2 separate regions of the Homo sapiens genome follow, and region 2 is linked to region 1. The links are contacts of gene promoters, found by promoter capture Hi-C in human tissues and cell types (Jung and others, 2019). All regions are on one chromosome and are shown on one strand. The core of a region is centred on a gene start or on the middle of the fragment in contact, and the rest is flanking DNA. Distances in the headings are between cores, read along the strand shown. Region 1 holds the start of PABPC1L (poly(A) binding protein cytoplasmic 1 like). Region 2 has its middle 15 kb from the start of LINC01260.

What was found. Contacts are between HindIII fragments. The study calls those that stand out against the background at their distance.
Region 2: a fragment that was not itself captured here is called in contact with the fragment with the promoter of PABPC1L in region 1 in 1 of the 25 tissues and cell types used here (bladder).

The regions. Positions count from the first base shown.
Region 1 is chr20:44,907,620-44,914,145 of GRCh38, reverse strand. PABPC1L (poly(A) binding protein cytoplasmic 1 like) reads right to left here and starts at 4,086. Exons shown (of 15, transcript NM_001372179.1): 1 at 3,810-4,086; 2 at 1,293-1,486. The coding sequence starts at 4,002. It overlaps YWHAB (tyrosine 3-monooxygenase/tryptophan 5-monooxygenase activation protein beta), which reads right to left. Exons shown (of 6, transcript NM_139323.4): 6 at 5,614-6,526. RefSeq lists a silencer at 3,903-4,232. The HindIII fragment of the contact is 11,748 bases long and covers 1-6,526 here.
Region 2 is chr20:44,683,493-44,690,032 of GRCh38, reverse strand. No RefSeq gene overlaps it. Among named protein-coding and RNA genes, the nearest start is that of LINC01260, 15 kb to the right of the region's middle. RefSeq lists silencers at 4,666-4,785, 6,387-6,446. The HindIII fragment of the contact is 5,388 bases long and covers 2,034-6,540 here.

The DNA of each region.
Region 1 (6,526 bases), core at 2,837-5,336:
AAGGCTACGGGGTAACTGATCAACTATCCTTATAAAATCTAGAGACAGAACACCCAGGTTTAAGCCCTCTGTTCCAGACATACTGACCTGCTATATGGCCGCTGATCCTCAACATCCTCATATAAAAAGTCAGAGAAATAATCAGAATCCTTCTCAAATGACATACCTCCACTGGCTCAACATATATTTATTGAGCACCTAATATGTTTCACATCTTATTCTAAGTATTGGGATACAATAATGACTAAGAACAAGATCACTGATGGAACTTACATCTAATGTAAGACAATCTTAAAAACAAGATTCAATAACTTAATTGCCTTGATGGCCCCAATTAATGGCCTTCCTGTAGCCACACCCTTCATCCTATAATTTCTACTCCCCTCTCACTCTGAATGTGGGCTGGTCTTGTGACTTGCTTTGGTCAATAGAATGTAGTGAAAGAGGCCAGGTGCGGTGGCTCATGGCTGTAATCCCAGCATTTTGGGAGGTCAGGAGTTCGAGACCAGCCTGGCCAACACAGTGAAACCCACCCTGTCTCCACTAAACATACAAAAATTATCCAGGCATGGTGGCTCGCACCTGTAATTCCAGCTACTCGGGAGGCTGAGGCAGGAGAATCGTTTGAACTCAGGAGGCTTGAACCCAGGAAGTTGCAGTAAGCTGAGATCATGCCACTGTACTCCAGCCTAGGCAACAGAGTAAGACTGCATCTCAATTAAAAAAAAAAAACGTAGTGGAAGTGATGGTTCCAGTTCTGCATTTAGTTCTCAAGAGGCCTGGTGTGCTTCCACTCTTGTCTTCTGAGCCCCTGCCATTGCCATGAGAATACCATGAGAATAGCCTGGACTAGCCTACTGGAGGACAAAAGGCCATAGGGAGGAAAGCCAAGATGTTCCAGCTGACAGCCAGTCGCTCCCTCATATACCCAGCGAGAGCTCCCACTCAGCTTTCAGTGGGCATAGGAGGGAACCCAGCCAAGACCAGAAGAACTGCCCAGCTGAACTTTGCCCATTGCCAACTGTGGAATTATTAGCTAAATAAATGATTGTTGTTGACGGCCACTAAATTTGAAGGTGGTTACACAGCGAGAGCTGACTGATACACAGGTAATGTCTGGTCATTCACGGAAGATGAAACTGAAAGAACGGCTGTCATTCAGGTGCTTGCTGTACCTGAAACTTGACTGAAAGGACCTTGTAAACTGTAAAGTGAGGTGTTGCTTGTCACCCCTCTACCAGGCAGGTAGTTGACACCGATCTACCCAAAGACGTACACCCTTCATCCTCTACCTTGCAAGAGAGGATGTTCCCAAAGGTGGAGAAGGTATCATATAAAGCCTTGTTGTCAATGGAGTCCTCCAGGTTCTTGATGAAGATGTTGCCCACACCTGACTTGCGAAGTCCTGGGTCTCGCTGGGACCACATGATGCGAATAGGCTGGCCTTTGAGCATCTCAAAGTTCATTGTGTCCAGTGCCCGCTCCGCTGGACAGAAGGAAGAGGAGAGAAATTAGCAAGTTTAGGGAATTTTCTTACCTTGATCACCCACCCCTCGAGGTGCTTAACTGGGAGCCAATAAAGAGAAAGTCATTGTCTGGGTCCCAGACAATAAGCCAAGATAAGAGCCCAAATAACTGAGATAAGAGCCCAAAGGCTCAGGAAGGATAAGCTGAGAATTAGTGTGTATGGTGCTCCCCCAACCTTCCAGTTATGATCTCATTCAACCAACTCCCTGCAGCCACATGAGCATGGATTCCTGCCCCTCATTTTACAGATGGGAAAACTGAGAATAAGAAACATGAAAGGTCTGTGGCAGCGTCAGGTCTATTCTGGATTCTAAAGTACACTGAGTGGATAACAATGTCCATATGACAAGGGGTGGCAGCACTTTGAGGAAATTAAAACTCAGAGGTGCTGCAGGGCAGAGCTGAGGTTAGATCTCAAGCAGTCCGGCTCTGGGGAAAGTGGACATTACCTCTCTGAGCCTGTTCCTCACCTGTAAAGGGGGAATGATGGTAATATTACCTACTTTTCCACACCTAACAAAGGGAGATACTACCAACTACCAGGTTGTTGGAGGGACTGAAAAATAAAGAAGGTATGTAAAAGTGCCTTGTTTGTAACTTTGTGCCTGACACAAAATAATGTCTCAAAACAGCAGCCGATGCCCAGCCTCCGGCCACTGCTGCAGCCTGTGTCTCTCCTGGGTGATACACGTGACCTGTTTCAGGGAGTCTGCTAGTGCAGAGACATGGAAGGGGGCTGTGGGGAACACAGTGGAGCAAGTTTCAGGAAGCCCGGATTCTCCACCTAGTCTTATCATAAATACCTGGGGCAAAACCCTTCTCTCTGCAGCACGGTTTCCAGGCCGAGTCCCACTTCATTCACAGGGCTTGGAGGAAGATGGGAAGAGGCAGGAGGTGGAGCAAAGCAGAACAAACAGAAAAGTGCCCAGGAATCCAGCCCAGTAAGGGGCGGGGAACAGGCCCGGCGGAACAACCCCTTCCCTAGCAAACCACCCACTCAGGCAACCACCAGGTTCACCCAGGCGACCTGGCGCAAGGGATCCCTCTAGTGGACGCCGGCCATTTTTTGGGTGAGTTTCTGGAGTCTTACATCAGAATGTTAAAGCCACTATTTTCGTTGTTGTTTCTTTTTTGTTTGTTGTTTTGTTTTGTGTTGAGATGGAGTCTCGCTCTGTTGCCCGGGCTGGAGTGCAATGGCGCAGTCTCGGCTCACTGCAACCTCTGCCTCCCGGATTCAAGCGATTCTCGTGCCTCAGCCTCCCCAGCAGTTGGGATTACAGGCGTCCGCCATCATGCCCAGCTATTTTTTGTATTTTTAGTAGAGAAAGGGTTTCGCTATGTTGGCCAGGCTGGTCTCGAACTCCTGACCTCAAGTGATCTGCCCACCTCGGCCTCCTAAGATGCTGGGATTACAGGCGTGAGCCACTGCGCCTGGCCTTATTTATTTATTTATTTATTTATTTATTTATTTATTTATTTATTTTAGGTTACCACTTAAGAGCGTTTACGAGGTAACAAGCAGTTACCATTCTTTATGCATAGACAGCAGTTCTCCATTCTTTATGTTATTGGAGAATACGCCTTAGCCCCATTTTGCAGATGAAAAGGTGCAGAGCGTGAAGGCTTGCCCAAGCTCACTCATCCTCTCCACTCTCAACAGAAGTGCAGGCAAACTCATCGGACAAGCTCTAATCAATGCTATCAGCTCTGAGAAAGCGGCCTTGCGGCCTGGAGGCAGCGGTTTTTCAGAGCCCGTGCAGGTAGAGGCGCCCAGTGTGGATCTCACGTCGCGCTGGGAAAGGCCTGAGCCCAAGGCTGGGTTCTCCTGCCTCCCCTGCTCACCAGCTGTGTTGCCTTGGGCATCTTCCTCACCAGGTGCTTTGAATCTCTCATCCTCACAAGCACTCTATAAGGCAGCTAGGACCCCCATTTTCCAGACACGCATCTGAAGCTCAGAATGGTCGAGTAACTTGCCCAGAGTCACACGGCTGCTGGGCTTCTATCCCTGGTCCGCCTGACCCCCACCCCCACCCCCACAAAGCCTGTATCTGTTTTCACTCGACCCTAATCTCTCTCCTCTGTAGAGGAATAGCAGTAAACCACACTAATTACCAATTCCCGTCTCAGGGGCCAGGCCTCTGCCAACGCCCTGTTATCTTTGAGCCTCAGTTTCCCCGGCTGCAAAGTGTAAGATGAAAGCGCAAGCGGCCCAGTTCCGGCTTCTGTCTGTCCGCCTGCTTGTCCGTCGGTCCTTCCCCTCCCGCCCCATCCCCGGGGCTCACCGTCCGCGGGCTGCTGGAAGTTGATGTAGGCGTAGCCCAGCGAGCGCCGGGTGGCTACATCGCGGCACACGCGGATGGACAGGATGGGGCCGGCGGGAGAGAACTTCTCATAGAGCATGGCCTCGGTCACGTCGGGGTGCAGATCGCCCACGTAAAGCGAGGCAAGCGGGTAGCCAGAACCGCTGGCGTTCATGGTGGGCAGGGGGCCGGGGCTGCGGGGCAAGCAGGAGCCGGGTCACCCAGCAGCCCCGCGCTCACCCGGGCGGAAGCCCTCCTTCCTGGGCGCGGGCCCGCCCCTTCCCTTTACCGCCCCCGCGTCCCTGCGCACCAATCGTGGGCGCGCTCGGACGCCCCTCCCCCGGGATCCCTCCTGGGCCCACCCCCCACCTGCGAGCACTTGGGGATCTAAAAGCTACAGGTGGGGACACCTCTGACCCCGCCCTGGGAGGCGGAAAAAGCCTTCAACCTGGCCTTGAGCAGGGCTGCTGGGACTTGAGTGGAGCTCTCAAAACCCCCAGCTCTTTTGAAAGAGCCGAGGACTGGGACGGAAAGGACGCAGGGGACTGAGTTCTAACCCCGGAACAGATGATCATCTTTCTGAACCCGTTTCCCTTCTCTGTAAAATGGGAATGATTCCCTCCTGACAAGAATGAAAGGAGACCCAAACCGCGCTTTTTGCGTTTCACACACAAACGGAATTCCGAACAGGCCACTGTTTCAAAGCTTGTGTAGAGAATTTTACCCTGCTCCATTGAAGATGTCTTCCTCCAGAGAGCCTGATCCAGTCCCACCGTTTCGCACCAAGGATGGAAATGGCTTTGAGACATGAGAACTGGAGACCACTAAGGCCTTTCTTGGTACTGGCTCATATTACCAAGACCCCTTTTCCTGGGATATTCCCTGTCCCTCTGCTAAGCCATTACACATCCATTACACCAGGGAGGTTCACTGAGTTACTTGTGGCTCAGCCTAAATGCGGACAATTGGGAACTAATAGCAGAGCAAGACCTAAACAGAGCAAGACTGTGAATCTGAGCTTGCAGCGTCAATCTGTGGTATAGGGACATTAAAAACAACACAAAAACAAAACAACTACTCCACTGAGCACCAATACTTCACTTTTCCTCTGATAGGACTTTCCTGGTCTCACTGATCCAACAGAGCAGGTAGGCCCCCACTGACTTTTGGTTGAGTGTGGCTTCAACAGGTGGAACAGCTCCTAAACTAGGGACAGAAGGTGCCCATCTGGCTGTCCAGCCTCAGAGTAGCAAGGAAGCACTAATTCTAATCTTGGGCTAAAAAAGACCCCTCTATCCTGATATTTTTCTCTCCTTGTGGTAATGTGGATGTTTTCAGAAGGGGCAAATCCTGTGAGGAACCAGCTCTGCAGGCCACCATACAGTGTGAGGACAGGTGAGACGCCAGCTTGGTGATGACCAAGACTTATGCAACCATAGGTTACCTATTTCACTGGCTTGGTTGTATCTCAGAGTTAAAAAATGGGGAAGGGATGGTGGGCTCGAATACAATGCAAAATAACTGTCCATACCAAATCTTAGAAGTCACTAAAGAGGACCTAATACCTGCATGGTTTGTTGTGGAAGGTAGAGAGGTATCAAGTAACGGGTGTAAAGAGGCTGTTTAATTAATGGTAATTTCTTCCCCTGGATAACACCTTGACTTCTGGTCCTAAATAATGAAATAAAACTGTTTGCCTATTTTTAAAGAAAACAGAGTTAAAAATAAGTGTGATCAGAATAGTTAGCTAGGTCTGGTAACAACAGAGATGGTGGTGACACATCAATTCACAGGCAACTAACTGATAAAATTTTTATTTCACTTTTGAATTTTTACACTTTTCCTGATTATTCTGTGTAAGGTGAAACTAGAACTGTTTAAAAGACATACACAAATCTAGTACATCAATAACCGGGGATTTTTCTTTTTTGCTATACTATTTTCACAACCACGGGTGTGCTTGCTAGGCAATATAACCATCACAGAAGCAAACGTTAGGCAGAATACTGGTAAGAAAAAACAAAGCAAGAAAAGAGCTACCAGATATACAGACAGGCTTGGTTCCACATTCACTACTGCATTTTCAAGCGCCAAGTATTAACTGCACATTTTTGTTCAGCTAGAAAGGAGGGATTTTTTTTTTTGTTTTTTTCTTTTTTTTTGGTTTGTTTTAAATCAGTGCATAAATTTTTCTTTTCTCATTTCAGCAGATGGACAAACAGATGGACTCTACAGCTAAGTGGAATATCAAAGGTAGAGGGGTGATTCTGTGAGACTGATAGGCCTGACTATTCTCAATTCTCCCCACTGCAGTGTTCACGCAACTTCCCTGAATATAGGGTCTCCTTAAACACATCTGAGCACTGACCTGGATGAGTGCACTTGGGAGACCTGGTGACAGGCACAAAAAGCATGATCAGGGCTAGCCTCAATACAGGGAGAAATCATGGATATTTAAAAATACTTTTTTGATTCAGATTCCGGTATGACTGAAGAGCAACACCGTGTTGAGAACTGGAGGAAGACAGGGTTCTGGTGCCAGAAGCTCTTCTCCAATCTTTAAAGCCAGGCTTGCTCACCAAGGTGCTCAGTAATGTCTCTCACCCCTGCCCATATATAGCATTAAAAAGTGAACAAAAGACAGATAAAGATAGAATTCAAAAAGGAAAAAAAGTAAGGAAGCAGAGGGACAGAAACTT
Region 2 (6,540 bases), core at 3,478-5,977, 220 kb after region 1:
CTTCTCCTTCTGGAGGTCCCTTGCAAGTCCTTCCTCGGCCCTCAGGAATCCAACATCCAACTCCAGCTTCTTGCTGCTAAGACCACTCCACCCTCCAGGAGGCCCTAGGGAACAAGACCCAAGCAGACCCCTGCAAGCTACCCCCACCCCAGCCCACAACGAATCCCCAAACCCTTCCATGTCCCCTGCCTGGCATCTGGAGGGGCAGTATTGGCCCCCTCTGGGTGAGGTCTCATAGCTGGAGCTGCCGCTCCTCCTGCAACACCTCCTCCCCAAACCCCAAGCCCTTTATTTTCCCACAGTCAGTGAGGGGGTGAAGGCTGGGGAGAGAGATCCTCGGCCACCTTCTTTGTAAATCCGTCGGACCTGATGATCCAGTCTAGAATTTCACATCTTTCCTATCCTGGGGTCTTCTGTTGAATATTTTGATATATTTCAACATAAGGAAACAGGACTTATATACTGTTCTTGCTCTGGATTTTATTATCTTTGTATCTTACATATTTTCTCACCTTTCCTTATAGATACCTCACTTGAAAAATTTTAATTGCAGCAAAATATACATAACATAAAATTTAGCTAATTAGGAAGGGCACAGTGGCTCACGCCTGTAATCCCAGCACTTTGGGAGGCCGAGGCAGGTGGATCACGAGGTCAGGAGGTCGAGACCATCCTGGCTAACACGGTGAAACTCCGTCTCTACTAAAAATACAAAAAATTAGCTGGGCGTTGTGGCAGGTGCCTGTAGTCCCAGGTATTAGGGAGGCCGAGGCAGGAGAATGGCATGAACCCAGGAGGTGGAGCTTGCAGTGAGTCGAGATCACGTCACTACACTCCAGCCTGGGTGACACAGCGAGACTTCATCTCAAAAAAAAAAAAACCAAAAATTAGCTAATTAATCATTTGAAGTGTACAGTTTTGTGGCATTAAATATAGTCACATTGTTCTGCAACCATCACCACCAAACCTCTCCAAAATGTTACCTTGCAAAACTGAAACTCTGTACCCATTAAACACTAACATCCTATTCCCCCTCCTCCCAGCTCCTGGAATTGCCATTCTACTTTCTGTCCCTATGAATTGGGCTACTTTTTTTTTTTTTTTTTTTGAGACGGATCTCACTCTGTCGCCTAGGCTGGAGTGCAGTGGCGCGATCTCGGCTCACTGCAACCTCCGCCTCCCGGGTTCAAGCGATTCTCCTGCCTCAGCCTCCCCAGTAGCTGGGATTATAAGCACATACCACCACGCCTGGCTAACTTTTGTATTTTTAGTTAAGATGGGGTTTCACCATGTTGGCCAGGCTGGTCTCAAACTCCTGACCTCAGGTGGTCTGCCCACCTTGGCCTCTCAAAGTGCTGGGATTATAGGCGTAAGCCACCGCATCCAGCCTACTTTAGACAGATACTTTGTCTAAGTGGAATAATACAGTATTTGTGCCTTCTTGTCTGGCTCATCTCATTTAGCATAGTGTCCTCAAGGGTCATCCACGCTGTAGCATCTATCAGAATTTCCTTCCTCCTTAAGGCTGAATAATATTCCATTTACATATAGACCACACTTTGTTTATTCATTCGTCCATTGTTGGATACTTGGATTGCTTCCACCTTTGACTATTGTGAATAGTGCTGCTATGATCACGGGTGTACACATATCTGTTCAAGACCCTGCTTTTCAGTTATTTTGGGCACACACCCACAAGCAGAATGACTGGATCATAAGGTAATTTTATTTTACATTTTTCGAGGAACTGCTGTACAGTTTTCCGTGGCTGTTATACCATTTTACATTCCTACCAACAGGGCACAATGGTTCCAATTTCTTCACATCCTCACCAACACTTATTTTCATTTTTTAAAAATAGTAGTCATCCTAGTAGGTGTGAGATGGCATGTTTCCAATCTTTTGCTGATAAAAACGGCAGTGGATAATCTTGTACACACCTCATTTCACACATATGAAAATATATCTGTCGTTTAATTCCTAAGAGTGGAATTGCTGGATCAAAGCATCTTTTGGAATTTCTTATGGAAGTCTAACTTATACACAAAGTTGCACACAAATCCCAAGTGCTTAGCTTGATGAATTTTCACGGAGTGACCACGCTCCTGAAGATGGTGTCCAGAACATTGTCAGCCCCAGAGAAGCCCCCAGATGGCCCCCAAAGAGCAGCCATCATCCTGACTTTAACATCATAAATTAGTTTTGCCTCTTGTGAACTTTTTGTGAGTGGAATCACACAATATGTATTATTTTGCGTGTGGCTTCTTTTGCTCGACACATATGTGTGCAAGTTCCATCTACACTGCTGTGTGTAGTTGTTCATTCATTTTCATTCTCACTGGAGTATTGCATTGTATGAAGATACCACAATTTATCCGTTCTGCTGTCGATGAGCATTTGGGTAGTTCCTGGTTTAGGGATATTTCAAATTATGTGGCTATGGAGATCACTGGCATAGTCCTGTCCAATAAAATATGATAGACACAGAAGAACTGAAAATATGAGTCAAACAGATATTTGTACCAAAATGTTCACAGCAGCACTATTCACCATAGCCAAAAGTGGAAACAACCGAAATGCCCATCAGTGAATGAATGGATAAACAAAATGTGGTATATCCTTACAATGGAACATTATTCAGTCTTAAAAAAGGAAGGAAGGTCTGACATATGCTACAACATGCGTGAACCTTGAAGACACTATACTGAGTGAAATAAGCCAGCAACCAAGGACAAATTGTATATGATTTCTCCCGTATGAGGCAACCTAGAATAGTCCAGTTCACAGAGACAGAAAGTAGAATAGTGGCTGCCAGGGGCTGGGAGGAGAGGAGCAAGCGGAGTTGTTGTTTTATAGAGGCAGAGTGTCAGTTTGGGAAGATGAAAACGCTCTGGGGGTAGATGATGGTGATGGTTGCGCAACAATGGGAATGTACTTAACACAGCTGAACTTCTGGACCCTTAAAAATGGTCCAAATGGTAAATGTTATGCATATCTTACCACAATAAAAAGGTAAAAATATATAATATGATCCACAATGCAAGCCATGTATATTTCTAGCAGCCACATTCAAAAAAGAAAAAGAAATAGGTAAAAGTAATTTTAAAAATTACTTAACCCAGGCCAGGTACAGTGGCTCATGCTTGTAATCCCAGCATTTTGGGAGGCTGAGGTGGGCAGATCACTTGAGGTCAGGAGTTTGAGACCAGCCTGGCCAACATGGTGAAACCCCATCTCTACTAAACATACAAAACAAAATTAACTACGGGTGGTAGCAGGTGCCTGTAGTCCCAGCTGCTCAGGAGGCTGAGGCAGGAGAGTCACTTGAATCCGGGAGGCAGAGGTTGCAGTGAGCCAAGATCATGCCACTGCACTCCAGCCTGGGCGACATAGTGAGACTCCGTCTCAAAAAAATAAAAAACAAAAATAAAAATTACTTAATCCAATCTATCCAAAATATTATTGCGACACATCATCAATATTAGCAAGTTATTAAGGAGTCATTTTGCATTTTTGTTAGTATACAAAATCCCATATATATTTCACACTTGCAGCACATCTCAATTTGACCAGCCATATTTCTTTCTTTTTTCTGAGACTGTCTCGCTCTGCTGCTCAGGCCGGAGTGCAGTAGCACGATCTTGGCTCACTGCAGCCTCCGCCCCTGGGTTCAAGCAATTGTTGTGCCTCAGCCTCCCAAGTAGCTGGAACTACAGGTACGTGCCACCACGCCTGGCTGATTTTTGTATTTTTAGTAGAGACAGGGTTTTGCCATGTCAGCCAGGCTTGGATCAGCCATATTTCAAGGACTCAGCAGCCACATGTGGTGGGTGGCTCCACATCAGATCATGCAGGTCTAGTTCAAGTCTTTTGATGAATGTATCATGCATACCTGTTAGATATGTGCATTTTTAATTTTGATAGATGTTACCAGATTAGCTTCTATAGGTGTTAAACCAAGTTTTCTTTTCTGGTTTTTTTTTTTTTTTTTTTTTGGTTTGTTTGGAGATGGAGTCTCACTCTGTTGCCCAGGATGGAGTGCAATGGCGAGATCTCAGCTCACTGCAAGCTCCGCCTCCTGGGTTCAAGTGATTCTCCTGCCTCAGCCTCCCGAGTAGCTGGGACTACTGGCGTGTGCCACCACACCCAGCTAATGTTTGTATTTTTAGTAGAGACAGGGTTTCGCCATATTGGCCAGGCTGGTCTTGAACTCCCGACCTCAGGTGATCCGCCCTCCTCGGCCTCCCAAAGTGCTGGGATTACAGGTGTGAGCTATCGCACCTGGCCAAAACCAAGTTTTAATCCCACCAACAATGTAAGAAGGAGTGTGTCTCCATATCCCCACCTGCATAAGTTTGCCAGTTTGATAGCAAAACAGTGCCTGCTCAGGTGGTGTGGGTTTAACACGTTTCTCTTCCTAGGAGTGAAAATGAGAATCTTTTTATATGTTAAAATGCCGCTGCGCTTTCCTTTCTGTGAACCATTGGCTCACCAATTTGAGGGCTATTTTATACTTCTCTCACCCCTCTCCCCGTTCTCCAGGCCCCACCAGAGTTGGGACTAAATGAGGGCTCAAAGCCAGATATTTCAGAATCGTGCTGTTGTCTTGCTGGCAAATTCTGTCTGAGTTCTGGGAAGCAGGGCTTATCCTTGAGGGCACACCGCCCCCTGCTGGCCAAGATGGGTTTTTCCTCCCCAGCTTAGACCAGGAGAGGAGGCAGGACGGCTGGCGACTGAGGGGGGCTGCCTCTGGAGTCTGGGTTTGATCTCACGTATACCATTGACTCCTATGTGACCTCAGGTAAGCAACTTCACCTCTCTGGGCTTTCTACTTCCTCACCTATAAAATCGAAATAATAGCCATTCTTCTCACTCTCGGCGTTGTTGGAGGAATAATCCGGTGATCGGGCTTGAAGGTGCTTCACAGAGTGTGGCAAAAAACAAGTGCTAACTAAACAGTGGCTGGGATTCTTGACATTCAGAAAGACCCAGTGGAGAGAGAGAAAGGATGACGGGAGCTTAGCAAAAGAAGCAGCTGGTGCAGCTGGAATTTCATAGGTCCACTTCTGCCTAGCCAACTTCTAAACCTGTTTTCTCTTGGCTCCCTTACTTTCCAGCCAGAGGCTCAGTCATACTGCAATGCTGAGAACTCCCTGCCTAAGCCAGACAGGGCCTTGACCTTTCCCCCACGTTGGGCTGGGCACACTAGAGTGCTGAGCAAATCCACACTCAGCACCTCCCCTCCCCCCCCCACACACACACATACACAAAGCCACACATGCAAAGCATTTGGATATCTTCTTCCAGGGAGCTTATAGACACCCCAGCAGAGGCTTCTGTGATCACACTGGCTGAGCACCAGCTCTCTGTGTGGTGCTGGATGAGGGGAGTTTTATCTGAGCCACTCTGGCCCCCCGCTGTAGGGCCCTGTCCTCTTATTTGACATTCAACTCTTGCCTAATTGACAATTACACTCATATCCTTCCTCTGCTCTGCAACCTTCCATGGCTCCCCAGTGCCTACCACCTAAGGCCAGATTCCTCACCCTGGCATTCAAGGCCACTCATGGCCTTGGATGGTCTGTGTGTGGAGGGGCCCACTAGGCTACATGAGGAACGCTCTCTCAAATCCTGCCCTTCCTTCAAGATTGAACTAAATGCCACTTCCTTCCTTCCTTCATTTCTCTACCCATTCATTCAACATGATTTATTAAACACAAAATGGATTTATTAGCACATATTTATTACCTACTATGTGAAGACATTATTCTAGGCAGTGGAGAGAGATAGTGGTCTCAGCCAATTGCAACTGAAATGTGTTAGTTTTGCAAATGTGAAACATATGCCCATGCGAATGCGTTGGAAAGTTCCTCCATGGCCCTGGGAGAGGACATGCAAGTCAGGAGCCCTGATGCGTCACCAGCCTCACAGTAAATTCACCTCTGTGCCCAAGAATGCAGGGCTGTCTCCTGGTCCAGGATCATGGTCTCTTCCTCCTCTGATCTCCAAGGACTTGCACTCTCGGCTCTGCCACTGACCAGCTTTGTGACTTTGGGAAGTCATTTTTCTAAGTCTCAGATTATGTATGTAAATGGGTATATAGGAAGTGATTCCTACCTTGAGAGAGGAATTAAATGTTAATTAAATTGCTTAAAGGGGTTAGGTTACATTAGATTAGGTGTAAAAACGTCTGCACGTGGTAAGTGCTCATTGAGCGGCAGCCATTATTATTACTATTAGCCGCAGCTGACTTGGGCAACACCTGCTACCTGCTTCCAGATGGATCCAGAGGTTTGCTTTCTTTGCCCACTGGAGGGCAGCAGAAAGCAGAAACCTGCCTTCCAGAGCTTTGCACCCCGGCTAACACCTAACACTGGCCTCTCAAGAGGCAGGAGGAAGGGTAAGGGGTTTCTGGGCTCAAAAGTGAGGCTGGCCAGTGAATTTTCTGTGTCTCTAGGACTGGATGCTAGTGGCTGGGGTAGGTTCCCTAAACAGCTCCAATCAATGCAAAGGCAGCCAAGTCATCCAGCCCACAGCCCCA